Linked DNA regions of Homo sapiens: regions 1, 3 and 4 are each linked to region 2. Evidence: promoter capture Hi-C in 16 types of primary human blood cells and fetal thymus (Javierre and others, 2016). All regions are on one chromosome and are shown on one strand. The core of a region is centred on a gene start or on the middle of the fragment in contact, and the rest is flanking DNA. Distances in the headings are between cores, read along the strand shown.

Evidence for each region. Contacts are between HindIII fragments. The CHiCAGO score rates a contact against its expected background, and 5 or more counts as called.
Region 1: a fragment that was not itself captured here is called in contact with the fragment with the promoter of MMP7 in region 2 in 9 of 17 cell types (neutrophils, non-activated CD4 T cells, total CD4 T cells and 6 more); the score reaches 11.2 in neutrophils.
Region 3: a contact is called between a fragment that was not itself captured here and the fragment with the promoter of MMP7 in region 2, in 2 of 17 cell types (non-activated CD4 T cells and fetal thymus). The highest score is 6.8, in non-activated CD4 T cells.
Region 4: a contact is called between a fragment that was not itself captured here and the fragment with the promoter of MMP7 in region 2, in 1 of 17 cell types (non-activated CD4 T cells). The highest score is 6.0, in non-activated CD4 T cells.

The regions. Positions count from the first base shown.
Region 1 is chr11:102,234,978-102,239,115 of GRCh38, reverse strand. No RefSeq gene overlaps it. Among named protein-coding and RNA genes, the nearest start is that of BIRC3, 80 kb to the left of the region's middle. The HindIII fragment of the contact is 3,342 bases long and covers 375-3,716 here.
Region 2 is chr11:102,528,930-102,533,083 of GRCh38, reverse strand. MMP7 (matrix metallopeptidase 7) reads left to right here and starts at 2,337. Exons shown (of 6, transcript NM_002423.5): 1 at 2,337-2,491. The coding sequence starts at 2,384. The HindIII fragment of the contact is 6,591 bases long and covers 1-2,752 here.
Region 3 is chr11:102,210,869-102,214,991 of GRCh38, reverse strand. All of the region lies in intron 6 of YAP1 (Yes1 associated transcriptional regulator), which reads right to left. Among named protein-coding and RNA genes, the nearest start is that of YAP1-DT, 100 kb to the right of the region's middle. The HindIII fragment of the contact is 2,317 bases long and covers 1,315-3,631 here.
Region 4 is chr11:102,189,157-102,192,742 of GRCh38, reverse strand. All of the region lies in intron 4 of YAP1 (Yes1 associated transcriptional regulator), which reads right to left. Among named protein-coding and RNA genes, the nearest start is that of YAP1-DT, 80 kb to the right of the region's middle. The HindIII fragment of the contact is 4,595 bases long and covers 1-3,586 here.

The DNA of each region.
Region 1 (4,138 bases), core at 796-3,295, 290 kb after region 2:
GTTCTCATGATAGTGAGGGATTTCTCACGAGATCTGATGGATTTAAAAGTGGCAGTTTCCCCTGCACTCTGTCTCTCTCCTGCTGCCATGTAAGATGTACCTTGCTTCCCCTTCACCTTCTGCCATGACTGTAAGTTTCCAATTCCAGAGGCCTCCCCAGCCGTGCAGAACTGTGAGTCAATTAAATCTCTTTTGCTTGTAAATTACCGGTCTCAAGTAGTATCTGTATAGCAGTGTGAGAATGGACTAATACACTTCCCATTCCTCCAACTATTCTTAGTTTTCCTTACCTAGTGCTTTCTCTGCCACTGACCACTTCTGTTGGGTTAGTCATAACCACTCAATGCCCAGCTTAAATAGAACCTGTACAAGCTTTCCCTGATCATCCTAGGAGGAAGTAATCTTCCCATAGACTGTGCTCTCTCACTACATTGTGTGAACTAACTTCAGCACTTAACAGTCTTACCTTTACTCTTGGTAAGCTCCCTGAGGAAGTTACCATGCCACTTATTACTCAAGTTGGAATATGTTCCAAGTGTGTTTGTTGAGCAAATGTACATGATTTTTTAAAATGGATGGAAGATCTAACCTGTTACAGCATTGTCCTATTGTTGTGGCAATTTTCCTAGGATTCCCTCTGTGTGGAGAGCAAAGTCCTACCTGCAGTGGGGCCAGAGGTAGGGAAGCTCATAACTGAGAAGACAATTTTGAGCCCCAGGGAATACGGTTAGCCTTGTATACAGAAAGCATTTTCCAGTTATGGGCTACCCCCTCAACTTCTAGTCATCTCACAGCCATAGTGTGGGATTTAAACCTAGGTTTGAGGCACACAATTAGGAATTGTAATAATTATGTCTTATTTGATCTTGGTATGACCAAACAAGGAGATCATATGTGGGAGCATCTCAGTAATTACAGAATATTAAAATACTGAAAAACAAATAGCATACTTATAAAATTGAAGATGGTGTGCATCTTAATGACAGAACAAGACAGAGCCTCATGTACTTATGCAGATGCCCTGGGTAGACCTACTCAAGTTTGAAGGACTATTTTGAATTATTCAATAATACTATGTCTTTAAACAAGATGATATTGAGAAAAGGTCATAGTGATTTTAAAATACAGTATCACTTTTAAGGAATGTTAACGGTTTACCAGTTGCTTTTATAACACTTTGATCTTCTTTATCAGTGTCTTGAGATAGTGCAAATTGTAGTACGTTCACTTTACCCCTGATGGAGAAAAAGTCTGAGAGACTCCAAATCCCACAGTAAGTGATGGCAGTGGGACACCAACTTAATTGGAATAATCTGCCTTTCAAATTTGTCATAGTGACCAGGATAGAACAACAAAACTATGAGAACACTGGAGATGTTCAGGTATTGAGAATTTTTCTTCAGTGATTTTGGAAGACTGATAGGGATTTAGTCAAAGTTTTAGCTCAAATCAGTGGAAAATTTCCTCAGCAACATCCTGAATTTGGGGTAGGGTTTGCCACTGCATTCCAGATAAAGATGTGGCCTCGAAGGTGAGCTGTGAGTTGGCTGTTAAGCACCCGTCACCCCCATCCCCGCCCGCTGCCCCTCAATGAAGCATCAGCTGTTTTCTGAATGACACTAAATGGGCTTAGGCTGGTTTTCTGAAACTCCCATAGCAGAATTCCACAGAAATTCCTTTGGCCTAGAATACAGAAAAGCTATGCTGTCTTTCAATGATTTGGACTGTAAAAGAACAACTAAATCTCAAGTCCACATTCTTCACTGGGCAGTCCCATTTGGGATTATTTTACAGGGCTCAACAGACTTACTAGTGCTCAGAGACAAAACACCTCAGCAAATGGCCTCCTTTTGGAAGATGATGCACATGTGGTTTTTGTGGTGTGACTTCAAATTACCTAACAGTCTGGCTGTCCCTGAATATGAGCCATTGTATCTCTTATAAAATCTAAGGTCTTAATTCACGGTCATCCAAGTGATCAGTCTTATCTAGTTGTGATCCTAGTATCATTTAGAATCCACTGGGCTACAGCCCATGAGGCAGATGCCTCTGCTGAACTCTGCCTGCAGATGTGTTTACCTCCTCTTCCTTTTTTTTTTTTCCCCCTGAGACAGAGTCTCGCTCTGTTGCCCAGGCTGGAATGCAGTGGCGCGATCTCAGCTCACTGCAACCTCCGCCTCCTGGGTTCAAGCAATTCTCCGTGCCTCAGCCTCCCCAGTTGCTGGAATTACAGCTGCCTGCCACCGCAGCCAACGAATTTTTGTATTTTTAGTAGATACGGGGTCTCACCATGTTGTCCAGGCTGGTCCTGAACTCCTGACCTCAGGTAACCTGCCTGCCTTGGCCTCCCAAATTGCTGGGATTACAGGCGTGAGCCACCGTGCCAGGCTTTACCTCTTATTCAGTAGAAAAAAGTGCCAAATACAAGTTGCTGAGAGGTTCCCTGAAGGAGGAGGAAGTGTCTTTAGCTAGGTTTCCCAATGGCTGCATCACTAGTGAAGCTCAGCTTTGAGTAGCTGGCTTCAGTAGCTCTTGGTGATAGCACTGATAGACAGGAGATTTTCTCTCAGATCCTGCCATTTAATCCAGATCCTTGAGAAAATTAGTTCAAGTTTGCCAGATATGCTATCATTTTAATTGTGTAAATCCACTGTAACATAAAAACCCGATTTGAAACAGAACAAATGCTTTAAAAGGAACTGAGATGTGGGGCACGGCGTGGTGGCTCAGGCCTGTAATCCCAGCACTTTGGAAGGTGGAGGTGGGCAGATTGATTACTTGAGCTCAGGAGTTTGAGACCAGCCTGGACAACATGGTGAAACCCCACGTCTCTACAAAAAATACAAAAATTAGCTGGGTGGGTGGCGCAAGCTGCTTGGGAGGCTGAGGCACGAGAACTGCTTGAGCCCAGGAAGTGGAGGTTGCTGTGAGCTGACATTGCGGCACTGCACTCCAGCCTGGGTGACAGAGCGAGACCCCGTCTCAAAAAAAGAAAAAAAAAAAAAAAAAGAACTGAGATGTGGCTTCTAATAATATCCCAAGTAAAATTACAACCAAATGTGAAGTTTAACTCATATTTTATATAGATTCTATGAAGGTCGTGGGAACTATAATTCCACAAAAATATACCTGGGACAAGATGTAAGGAAACGTGGGGAAAGGTATGTCACAACCCTAAGAAGTTTTTACAAGTTCCTTTTACAAAAAAATCAAGCCCTGTCCACTAACTGAGTGCAAACCAATACCAATTTCACAAAGTTACAGTACCTCTAGTTCTTGTTTCTTTAACAGTTAAAGTTTGTTTTTAAGTTAACTAGACTAGGTGTTCAAAAATTTTACAGAAGTAGACCCTTTGCTAAGAGGTCTCCAAATAATTGCTTTCAGTGGCAAAGATACTAGGTTTTTTGTTTCTAACAGGATCATAGCAGCTTGTAAGTCAGGTCACTTTGGGAGTTTTGTTTTTTGTTAAAATACGGCAGACTTTAATTCAGAATACCTTTTCAGTGTCATTTTGTTTTGCTCATGTCTTGATTCTGCAACTGTTTTCATTTGTGGCAGTATTAAGGCTATGTTTATGGTTAAGAAATTATCCATTTTACCTATGTCAGAGCTTTTTGTGTTCAAGGTAGCAAAACATATTTTATGTGTGACTTGGAAAAACTGTAGTACTAAATGTCACCGACTTCTCATCTGAATTTTAATTTAGTAGTTAAGCTTTAAATCAAAAAAGATTTATCACAAAGTTCTCATGGCTAAAAAAGACTAAGTGCCAACAGTTTAAAGTTGAATAGGGATGACATGGCAGACATCCTGCCAGAGCTACTGTTGATTCCAACAGCGTTAGCACATGTGGAACCCCGGAGCCAGGAATTTACCCGCAATAAAGCCAGGTTTTCTGTCAGTAAAACTGATGATTACAGAAGCAGGGAGAGTCTGGCTGCCATTAGAGAAGGTAAGAAAACATCATCAGCTCCTTGGGGCTGCCTTTCTTTTGTAACCTCAGCTGTCAAGAAATGGAAATCGGGGTTGGGGAATTAAACAAAACCCCCAGTCTACCGATCACTTCTGCAGTAGTCACCTAGGTTTCCTTTCACTAGTAGTTACTGATCTCTCTCCCCCTCCCCCTCCCTCTGGAAGA
Region 2 (4,154 bases), core at 1,088-3,587:
AATTATGGATAAAGCTACTATAAACATCTATATGTATGTTTTTGTGTAAACATTTATTTTTATCTCCTTTAGGTAAACACCAAGGAGCACCATTGCTGAATCATATTGTAAAAGTATGTTTCATTTTGAAAGAAACCATCAAACTGTCTTCCAAGGTGGCTGTACCATTTTTCATTTCCACTAAAACATCCTGCAATTGCCACTGTCAGCGTTCTGGATTTTGGCCTTTCTAATTGGTAAGTAGTGGTATCTCATTACTGTTTTGATTTGCATTTCCCCAATGACATATGATGTGAAGAATATTTTCATATGCTTATTCACTATCTGTATATCTTTTTTGGTAAGATGACTGTTAAGGTTTTTGGCCCATCTTTAAAATCAGATTGTTTGTGTTTTTATTGTTGAGTTTTAAAAGATACTTGTATATTTTGGATAACAGTCCTTTATTGGATATGTCTTTTTTTTTTTTTTTTTTTTTTTGAGAGAGAGAGAGAGTCTCCCTCTGTCACCCAGGCTGGAGTGCAGTGGAGTGATCTCAGCTCACTGCAACCTCTGCCTCTGAGGTTCAAGCAGTTCTCGTGCCTCAGCCTCCTGAGTAGCTAGGACTACAGGCACGCATCACCATGTTTGGCTAATTGTTGTATTTTTATTAGAAACAGGGTTTTGCCATGTTTCCCAGGCTTGTCTCAAACTCCTGACCTCAGGCAATCCACTGGCCTCAGCTTTCCAAAGTCCTAGGATTACAGGCGTGAGCCACCGCGCCTGGCCATGGATGTGTCTTTGCATTCATTTTCACCCAATTTGTGGCTTGTGTGCTCATTCACTTGAGGAAATGCCTTTTGATTTTAATTCAATGCAAATATTACCAAAAACGTGATATAATTCCATTTTTAGCTTATTCAAGTAAAGTTCATAAATATTCATTATTCTACAAATATTTATGGTGCACCTTATCACATGTCAAACTCTGACTAAGGATACCAATTACTCTAGTTAAACTGTGACCGTACAGAATCAAGACATCTCTGTAAAGAGAGCAAATTTAATTAACTGATCTGAAAATTTTACCTTTGCTGGCTCACAGTGCTCAATTACCATGTAATTGAAGTGATATGTGATTAATTAAATTTTTTAGCTCCAGCATATTTGGAGTGTTTCCCATGATGTATTAGAGTCAAAAGCCATGGTGTTCTCCCAAGTAATGTATAATATAATAAAAGAGACAGACCTATTACAAAATGAATAGGCAGTGCAGTGGGATAGAAAAAGCACTGAGCTACTATCTGTGTGAGCTGGGAGAAGTATAATAAGTTAAATTATCATCTTGGCCTCACTTTCATTTTTGGTAAGAATGGAGTCATTGGGCTAGAATCTGTAGGTAATGGATTCTTACTGCTATACGTAGAATAACCATTTTGTGTACTAAGGACCAATGCAGCCCTACCTGTAGCTGGGCAGCAGCCAGAGTCAGAGTGATTGGAAGAAAAAAATTGGATCTCCAAGTTGAAGGTCTAGCCTTGGAAGAATCTGTTACTATAAAATGAGAAGCAGAATAAGTAAGCCAGATGAAGAGTTAAACCCGTGCTTGTAGATTTTTGTTGGCTTGGTATTTTTTTGTGTTTAATTCAAGAAGAATTAGAGGCAGTGTTCCCCATTAAGAAAAGACATAAACTGATTAAAAGGAGACCCAAAGAAGGGAATTATCACTGCTCTGCTAAGGGACGTGGAAGGTGAGGGGACACAGCACAGTTGTATATAGAGTGGCCACTAATCCAGCCACACAGCAGCATTTCCATCTGCCTCCTGCCATCTTTCCCCTGTATGGAGAACCACAGGATTTTGGTGATGTTCTATTTCTTGACTTTGGTGACGGTTACAGTATTTGCTTAATTATTATTTCATTATTTACATGTTTTGTGCACTTTTCCAAACCTTTTAATTGTTAAGAATATATGGTACCATGTATTTAAGAATACATGGTACCATATAATAAGAATATATATTTAAGAATATATATTATTCTTTAAGAATATATGGTACCATAATGTCCTGAATGATACCTATGAGAGCAGTCATTTGACTTTGGCAAAAAAATGAGGTTTCTCATGGAGTCAATTTATGCAGCAGACAGAAAAAAAAATCCTTTGAAAGACAAATACATTGTGTGCTTCCTGCCAATAACGATGTAATACTTCCTCGTTTTAGTTAATGAAAAATAACACATACTTTCAAAGTTCTGTAGACTCTAAAAAGAAAGAAAACACTCAAATGAGTCACCTATTTCCACATTCGAGGCTGAGAAGCTATATAAATTTCTGCAGTCACTAGCAGAAAACACCAAATCAACCATAGGTCCAAGAACAATTGTCTCTGGACGGCAGCTATGCGACTCACCGTGCTGTGTGCTGTGTGCCTGCTGCCTGGCAGCCTGGCCCTGCCGCTGCCTCAGGAGGCGGGAGGCATGAGTGAGCTACAGTGGGAACAGGCTCAGGTATGTCACAGCCCACTTACTTAGGGTTCCATTCTTTTGCCATCTGCATTAAGAAATGTGTTTTTCAATTATTTCCCTTCCCATGTTAGCATTGCAGTGGAATTTTCTTTGGGGTGGTTCTTCGGATTATAAAAGCAATATATGTTTTCATCAAGTAGCCATTAAAAGCAGGTTTCAGAATCTGCTCAAATCGGGCTTGAGTTCCAACCCTCCACTCACTATGTAGATAGACTCAGGAAGGTCATCAAACTTCTCTAAGCTTCAGGTTTCCAATTTGGAAGTTGGAGATAAGAATGGTATCAACCAAATGAGGGTGTTGTGAAGCATTCAACACAATACCTGAAACATTGTTTAAATTAAGTTCTTATTTTTATTTATTATAACTTGAGATTCTTTTTCTATAGTATACAGAATATTGCCTCTTAAGATACAACCTGTAAATATACTGTTTGTGTATTTACAATACTGTTTGTAATGGAGATATCTGAAGTCAGAAAACATGGGTAGAAATTACAACTCTCCAACAAGTCAATGACAATAGACAAGGCATTAACATCTGACTTTGTTTTCTCATGTGTCCAGTAGAAAAAATAATATTATGTGTTTTATACCTCATGGGGTATTCTAGTAAGTAAATGAGGTGATAACAAAACCAACTAGCATGTATGTAACAATTGTAGATTATAAAGTACTTATATAGACATTGTGTCATTTAATCCTTAGTTCTATAAAAAGAGGAAACCAAAGTTAAACTGATTAGTGTACTTATTAGTGGTAGAGATAGAAATCAAGGACAAGTGCTTCTGGTTCAAAAATCATGTTCCTTGCAATATGCTTCTTAATAAGCAGTCTAATAAATATAAGCAGTCTACTAATTATTATTTGGTTAACTAATGGGATGATTACTTATAACTATTATTTGTAAATTTAGGCCTTAAGCATAAGAAAAGTCAATTTTTAATTCACATTAACTTAGACTTTTAAAAAGTTCCAGTTATAATAAGTTAGATTGAACCACATAAAGTTACTAGTATTTAACTTTTAAAATCTCCAAAACAGTAGTTTTATATGGTTCCACCTAATGAATTCTCCAGAAAGAGTACTCTGCGTTTAGTTTCTTTACTTAGAGTGAAGGTTGGCAGAAACTTAGTCTTCACTTGGAGGGATGTTAGCTAGGTTTAACAAAAAAACAGGAAAAGTCATCTCAACAAAGCAGAGAGATTTCTTCCAGAGGGTGTCTTGGTAAAGTCTGTAGCTCTAGAAGGGATTAAATGGGTTATTTGTTTTTAAATAAAGGATCAGTTATCAATTGTCATGGATGAACAATAAGTATTTGTTGTATTTAATGAGACAATTGTTGGTAACAGGAAAAAAAGACACAATATTAATAAGATTTCTTACATAAATTGCATATTCCTGGGCGGTCCTAAGACAGGTAACCATTACCATCTACTCCAAATAAACTGCAAATTAGTGAGCCAATGTTTAAATCATTTTAACAACAATATTATCAGGCATCATATAACCCTACACATGTTTCTAATGTATAGAAGTCAGAACACTTGAGTTCAAATACTGGTTCCTTCAGTTACTCACAAGGTGATCTTGTGCAATTTATTTCACTTCTCTGAGCTGTGTTTCTTCATGTATAAAATAGGGATAA
Region 3 (4,123 bases), core at 1,224-3,723, 320 kb after region 2:
GTATACACATGGATTGGGGGACAGTTATGAGAACTAGATGATAATCTTAAACTCTGAAAAATCACATCCAAAACAGGATGGCAGGTTGGTGTTCCCTAGCATTATCCTAGGATTCTACATTCTTTCTGATAGACTTCTGGAATTAGGCCTTTTGTAATCTGTATTACTCAATCATGGTCTCAAAGTTATTATGGCACTGTTCAAATAACAAGGAAGAGGCAAGTTTAATAAAACAAATGAAATAACCAGTTAAAAGTATGTGAGGTGTGAGACTAAATCTTCCCTCTTATATAAAGTTTTCAATGTACCCATTAAAAATAAAATATAATATATTCATTGGAAAACCTTCAAATAAATCTATGATTTATTTAATATCAGAACTTCGAAGAGAAAGATAACGTTAGACAAGTGTTAACAGGATTTTGAAACAGCTAACATGAAAGACAGTTTGAAGGGAAAAAAGCCAAATACTTTACTTTTACTAAATTCAGGAAAAAAATGGTTGTTGGCAATTGTTTTCATATAGCTCTGAACAATGGTATTATTTTGTTCTCATTAACTACAACTGTGAACATCTGAACCTCTTCACTGTTGAGAGGTAATGGTGCAGTATAATATCCTCATCAGCAATACTGTGGGCTTTATTATTCATTAAACCAGGGACTGACCTTGGTGTCTATTCATTACCACCTATAAGGAATGGCAACTACACATTATTCAGTAGTTGCCAAATATTTATACTGTAATTTCTATACAGATTGAAGCAATTACTTGCCCAGAAATGAAAGTAACCCCATATCATACTTTTGACCACCTAAATTGGAATTATACTGGCTACTGAGTTAAGACATCTTTATACAGCAGTGTTGTTTTTATTTCTGGGTAGTTTCAAGAATTCTCTAATTTTCTTTTTTTGAGGCAGAGTCTCACTCTGTCACCCAGGCTGGAGTGTAGTGGCATGATCTCAGCTCACTGAACCGCTGCCTCCCAGACTCAGGCCATCCTCCCACCTCAGCCTCCTGAGTAGCTGGGACTACAGGTGCATGCCACCAAGCCCAGCTAATTTTTCCGTTTTTAGTAGAGATGGACTTTCACCATATTGGCCAGGCAGGTCTCGGACTTCTGACCTCAGGTCATTTGCCTGCCTCGGCCTCTCAAAGTGCTGGGATTACAGGCGTGAGCCACTGTGCCCTGCCTCAAGAATTCTCATAAGGGCACTTGGGAATGAATCTCACCCTAAGCCTTAAAACAGAAATGAAGAATCTTTACTGGTAAGAAAGGGGATAAGCAAGGTTCTCACTATGGGGAAAAGCTTGTGAGCAGAATAACAGCAACAAGGCAGTGGAGTACACTTAGCTAATAATGGAAGAGTTACTGGCTTAACTGGAACCAGTGAGTGAAAAGGCTACTGACCACAGACCATGAGCCAGTTGCAGAGTTTAAACTCGATCTCATAGGTACTAGGGAACCCCAGATATTAAGAACCAAATTCTTTTTCTTTTTTTCAAGACGGAGTTTTGCTCTTTTCGCCAGGCTGGAGTGCAATGCCACGATCTTGGCTCACTGCAACCTCTGCCTCCCAGGTTCAGGCGATTCTCCCTCCTCAGCCTCCTGAGCAGCTGGGATTAAAGGCGCCCGCCCCACCACATCCAGCTAATTTCCGTATTTTTAGTAGAGACGGGTTTCACCATGTTGACCAGGCTGGTCTCAAACTCCTGACTTCAGGTGATCCACCCGCCTTGGCCTCCCAAAGTGCTGGGATTACAAGCGTGAGCCACCGCCCCCAGTCCAAGAACCATATTCTTAAGCACAAGAGAAGGTAGAAGTGTTCGCACCTCAGGGGGGACTATCTTTCCTCAAAGTTCTTCTCTCAAAAGACCTTAAAACAGAAGCTAGAGTGCATTCCTAAACCCACTTGCTCAAAAGGTCTCTCCAATTTACAAGTGAGCACTGATGTGTAACAGAGATATGACTAGAAAATAGCATTAACTGCTCAATCTCACAAAGCAAAGATGTTTACAGTTTCAGAAAGTTTCTTCTGAGAATGGAAATTGCTTTTGAAACATAAAAATCATAAGTAACCAAAATGAAATTAAAATGTTAAGCTCTTTGGCAGGGTGTGGTGGCTCATGCCTGTAATCCCAGAACTTTGGGAGGACGAGGTGGGCAGATCACCTGAGGTTGGGAGTTCAAGACCAGGCTGACCAACATGGAGAAACCCTGTCTCTACCAAAAACACAAAATTAGCCGGGCATGGTGGCGAATGCCTGTAATCCCAGCTACTTGGGAGGCTGAGGCAGAATCATTTGAACCCGGGAGGCAGAGGTTGCGGTGAGCAGAGATCATGCCATTGCACTCCAACCTGGGCGACAAGGGCAAAACTCCGTCTCAAAATAAAAATAAAAATAAAAATAAAAATAAAAATAAAAAGTTAAGCTCTGTAAGGATGAATTTTTCCAAAATCCTGCCAACATAGTATAATAAATTAAGGTGATAATTTCCATATTTAACTAAGAAGATATATAAATGCCTTTAAAGTTTTTTCAAAATTTTACATTTCAATATCACTTGGGCCATGGATCTTGGAATTTTTCATTAACCTCACCCATACTGACGTTAGTGTACACGAGCACAGCACCCTACAACAGCCACATGATATGTTAAATCCTATAGGAAGTACTTAAAGACAGCTTCTGTAGTAATTCATAAGCATTTTGAAGTTTAGTGGCTTTCCACATCCCACAGCATATGAGGTATACGATTAGAAAATGACACTGATCTCACTATTGCTTGCTAACTCAGCTGCATTAATATCTATTACAAAGTATAAGTTAAAAACCCAGTAACTTTACAACAGCGTCTAGTGTTCAGATACTGAGTGATGTCTTTATACCCTCTGTTCTTTGGGGCTGAAAAGTCCTTTCTAGCTTTCTTGATTATTCTGAGAAACACTATTTAAAGCCATCTTCACTTAAGATATGACTCTTCTGGCTGGGCGCGGTGGCTCACGCCTGTAATACCAGTGCTTTGGGAGGCCGAGGCAGGCGAATCATGAGGTCAGGAGGTGGAGACCATCCTGGATAACATGGTGAAACCCCGTCTCTACTAAAAACACAAAAAATTAGCTGGGCGTAGTGGCAGGCACCTGTAATCACAGCCACTCAGGAGGCTGAGGCAGGAGAATTGCTTGAACCTGGGAGGTGGAGGTTGCAGTGAGCTGAGATTGCGCCACTGCACTCCAGCCTGGGTGACAGAGCAAGACTCCATCTCAAAAAAAAAAAGAAGAAAAGACATGACTCTTCTTTGTGATCTATTTCCTGACATCTACCTTAAGGTTATTTAGAAAATAATAGGATGAGAAAAATATACACATGCTTTCTTGATACAAATACCACCAGATTTCTTGATCTATTTCAAATATAACCCTATACTTGAATTTCATACATTTACTGATAACTTTCCACAATTATGCCAGGTAAATATTAAACACTGACAACTAAAGCATATATAACAAACCAATATTTTAATCTCCAGCATATGCAAAGAAGATTTTTAAAAACCTCTTTCAAGTTTTTTGCTCTGGTCTGGGCAAATCTGAGTAATTACCTCTAATCTTCGTATCTTAGAAGCTTTACTACTAATAAGCCTCACCTTTTCTAAAACTTTACTATTTTAAAAAATCTAAGAATTCCTGATAATTTTAATAACAGTAAAGATTTACTTTTCTATTCAAGTATGAAACAAAGATCAAGAAGAATTTGACTTATTTATCAGATTCAGGGTATAAGACCTTGGGAAAAAAGGAAACAATTTCAACATTTTTTTGGCATGGAGGACTTTTTACCTGAATCCAAATCTCCTTTGAGTTAATTTCTGCTCCTATATTAGTTTCTATTTCATTTATCATGAATAAAATTCTTCTTTCAGAAACACTTCAGGCCAGACGTGGTGGCTCACGCCTGTAATCCCAGCAATTTGGGAGGCTGAGGTGGGCGGATCACGAGGTCAGGAGATCGAGACCATCCTGGCTAACACTGTGAAACCCCGTCTCTACTAAAAAATTCAAAAAGAATTAGCTGGGCATGGTGGCGGGCGCCTGTAGTCCCAGCTACTTGGGAGGCTG
Region 4 (3,586 bases), core at 833-3,332, 340 kb after region 2:
CAAAAAGGCTATTGAGAAGTAACCTTAAGCAAGAGTCCAAAGCAGTTACTGAGCATATTGTATTCAGTTAAAGAGTGGAAATATTCTTAAGAGCATCCAGTCTAATCCAGTCACATTTTACAGATGAGTCAAGAGAAGTTAGGTATCTTTCTGATCCAGTTGGTTATATTGTGATAGCAGAACTTGGGTCTCTTGATTTCCAACTGAGAAGGTAAATTTTTCTACATCCCAATTTAATTCAGTTGAATCAAGTACATTGTTGTAACTATCATGTGGAAAAGAGATGCTAGCCTCTACTGCAGATTGAAGAAAGATTTTTGGAGGAGATTGAAAATGACAGGTCAGAGCAATGACATAACTATTTTTCTCACAGGATAATGTACATATGAAACACTATAGAATATAACACTTAAAGAAGCACTAGCAAAATGAAGGACATCCAGAGAAGTGAGTAAATTGATAAAGAACAGAGAACTCTGAACACATGAAAAACCAGAGAAACCACAGTTAGAAGAGAACACTGCTGGGATTAGAGCTGTATTCACACATGTGAAAGGAAGTAAATTTTTGGGTAATCAAGAAATATAAACTTTGTGGTCATTAGAATTTTCCTTAAGTAGAATGGGCTACACTATAATGAAGTAAACTAGTAAAGGGAAAGGTCAAAGCTGAGATCGGTGAGGCAAGAATTGGGTAAATAATTCAACTAGATGCCTTTAAAGTCTGTTCCAATCAGAGATCTTAAATTCTCTTACGTAATTAGAAACTTGGCCAGGCCCTATGGCTCACACCTGTAAACTCAGCACTTTGGGAGGTAGAGGCAGGTAGACTGCTTGAGCCCCAGGGGTTTGAGACCAGCCTGGGCAACACGGCAAAACCCCATGTCTACTAAAAACACAAAAAAATTAGCAGGGTATGGTGGCACATGCCTGTAGTCCCAGCTACAGGCGGGAGGCTTGTATGAGCCCAGGAATTAAGGCTGCAGTGAACTGAGATTGAGCCATGCTGCACTCTAGCCTGGGCGATGAGAGTGAGACCCTCTCTCCAAAAAAGAAAGAAACAATAAAGGAAGAAAAGAAAAAAAGAAAAACTCATTATCTTTGGGTAACTTATTCAAGATGAGTCACAATACAAGATGCAAGTGCATTAACCACTATTTTTCTCCCTCTCAAATTTTCATGTATCAGCATTAGTAGGTATTTCTGAAAGATTAACTGCATTGAATCTAAATTTCTTTTAAATTCTAGGTATCAAAAGATCAAATTCAAATTTCAGTTTTGCCATTTAACTATATAACCTTGGGTATAATTTCCCTGATCTCAGAGGGGCTCAGATTTTAGACCATATTCCCTAACTCTCCCAGCATTTAAAAAAAAAAAAAAAAGTGTTGGTGGTCCGAGGAATCGTAATGGCTGTGTGGTGCTATGGCACTTAGCGGGCCAGGGATGTTGAATGTTCTGCAGTGATCAGAAGAGTAGCATTCTCCCCACTGAAAAAATGATGATTAGAGGACTCATTATGAGGGCCAAATTTTGTGAGTTTTATCAGTTAATAATTTTTTTTTTTTTTGAGATGGAGTCTCGCTCTGTTGCCCAGGCTGGAGTGCAGTGGTGCGATCTTGGGCTCACTGCAACCTCTGCCTCCCAGGTTCAAGCGATTCTCCTGCCTCAGCCTCCTGAGTAGTTGGGACTATAGGTGCGTGCCACCAGCCCAGCTAATTTTTGTATTTTTAGCAGAGATGGGGTGTCACCATGTTGGCCAGGATGGTCTTGATCTCTAACCTCATGATCCATCAGCCTCGGCTTTTGAGATGGAGTTTCGCTCTGTCTCCCAGGCTAGAATGCAGTGCACCATCTTAGCTCACTGCAACCTCTGCCTACCGGGTTCAAGTGATTCTCAGTGCCTCAGCCTCCCAAGCAGCTGGGATTATAGGCGTGTGCCATCACACCTGGCTAATTTTTGCATTTTTAGTAGACGGGGTTTGACCATGTTGGCCAGGCTGGTCTTGAACTCCTTACCTAAAGTGATCTGCCCACCAGGGCCTCCCAAAGTGCTGGGATTACAGGCGTGAGCCACTGCATCCAGCCTGTTACTAATTTTTATTTTTATTCTTAATTTTTTGAGACAGAGTCTCTGTTGCCCAGGCTGGAGTAGAGTGGCATGATATTCACTCACTGCAACCTCTGCCGCCTGGATTCAAGTGATTCTCATGCCTCAGCCTCCTGAGTGACTACAAGCGTGCACCACCACTCCCAGCTATTTTTTTCTATTTTTAGTAGAGATGGGGTTTCACTATGTTGGCCAGGCTGGTCAGGAACTCCTGGCCTCAAGTGATCCATCCACCTTGACCTCCCAAAGTGCTGGGATTACAGGCATGAGCCACCGCACCTGGCCATCTGTTAATAATTTTTAGCTCGCAATAGCTCTTTTTATCTAAAACACACATCTTTTCCTCTGTACGCTAAGTAATTAATGTAGTCCATAACCAAATACTGACAGCCCAGGATAACCAGGAAAGACTTGAGTTGATAAGGGGAAAAAAAGCCTCAAACCTCAAAACAAAACAAAACAGAACAAAAAAAACCTCACTTTTAGCATACAGCTATCAAGAGACTTGCTTTGATAAAATTTAAATAATTAGATGCTGACATTCTCTTTGCTCAAGACTCCATTAATAAAGTTACCAATTTGGTTTCTAGAGACTTCAGTGGTTTTCCCCCAACACTAATAGGATGGATTCTTAGTTATTTAGTTGGTTGTTAGGTGCATTTTCATCAAAAGGAAAATATTATTTTTAACAACAGAAATATTTGGCTTAAAAAAGAAAAAATGTTAATGAATGTCTCAAAATTTTTATAGATATTTAATTATTAATGCCAAATATTTAACTCTGATGAAAAAGAAGTCTCAACAACCTTCGGCTTTAGTCTTATTTTAATAAATTGCATATAGGTATTTGTATTTTACTTATCCTTTTATTTCTTATTTCAAGACATTATAGTAACACATACACACGTGTATGTAAATGCACAGAAAGCAAGTTTTGGGAAACTGAAACAAAGGAACCAAAATCAACCTATGAGGTTTAATACCTCTGACATTTCTACACATAGAATTTCTGTGCACAGAACTGTAGTTAGGAATTAAATATTCTGTTTTTGTCACTCTGGACTGTTCATTACTTGCTTTAAAATTCAGAAGTATAATTTTTTCCCCAAATCTCTTGCTCCAATATTTTGTTTACACCAAATATTTTTATCCCAGTGGTGCCATCAGCACTTATTTCCTAAAACACAGATTGGTAACAATATTTTAATACATCTTTTTATAATATAAACAATAGCGAAAATAACATTAAAGATCAGTTTATCAACTATTAGTGTTTTAAAGATCTTTTTTCATTCTGAACAGCAATTATAATTTCATTGTGTTTTCATTAGGCCTTTTACTGGAAAATGTCCATGACTGTATTATATACAGTAATAGATCTACAACATACAAGGTGATGTTTAAACCTGAGACTCATGTTTGCCAGTACAAAATCTCCAGGGAAAAAAAATCACCTCCTATGTGTTTATATGAAATA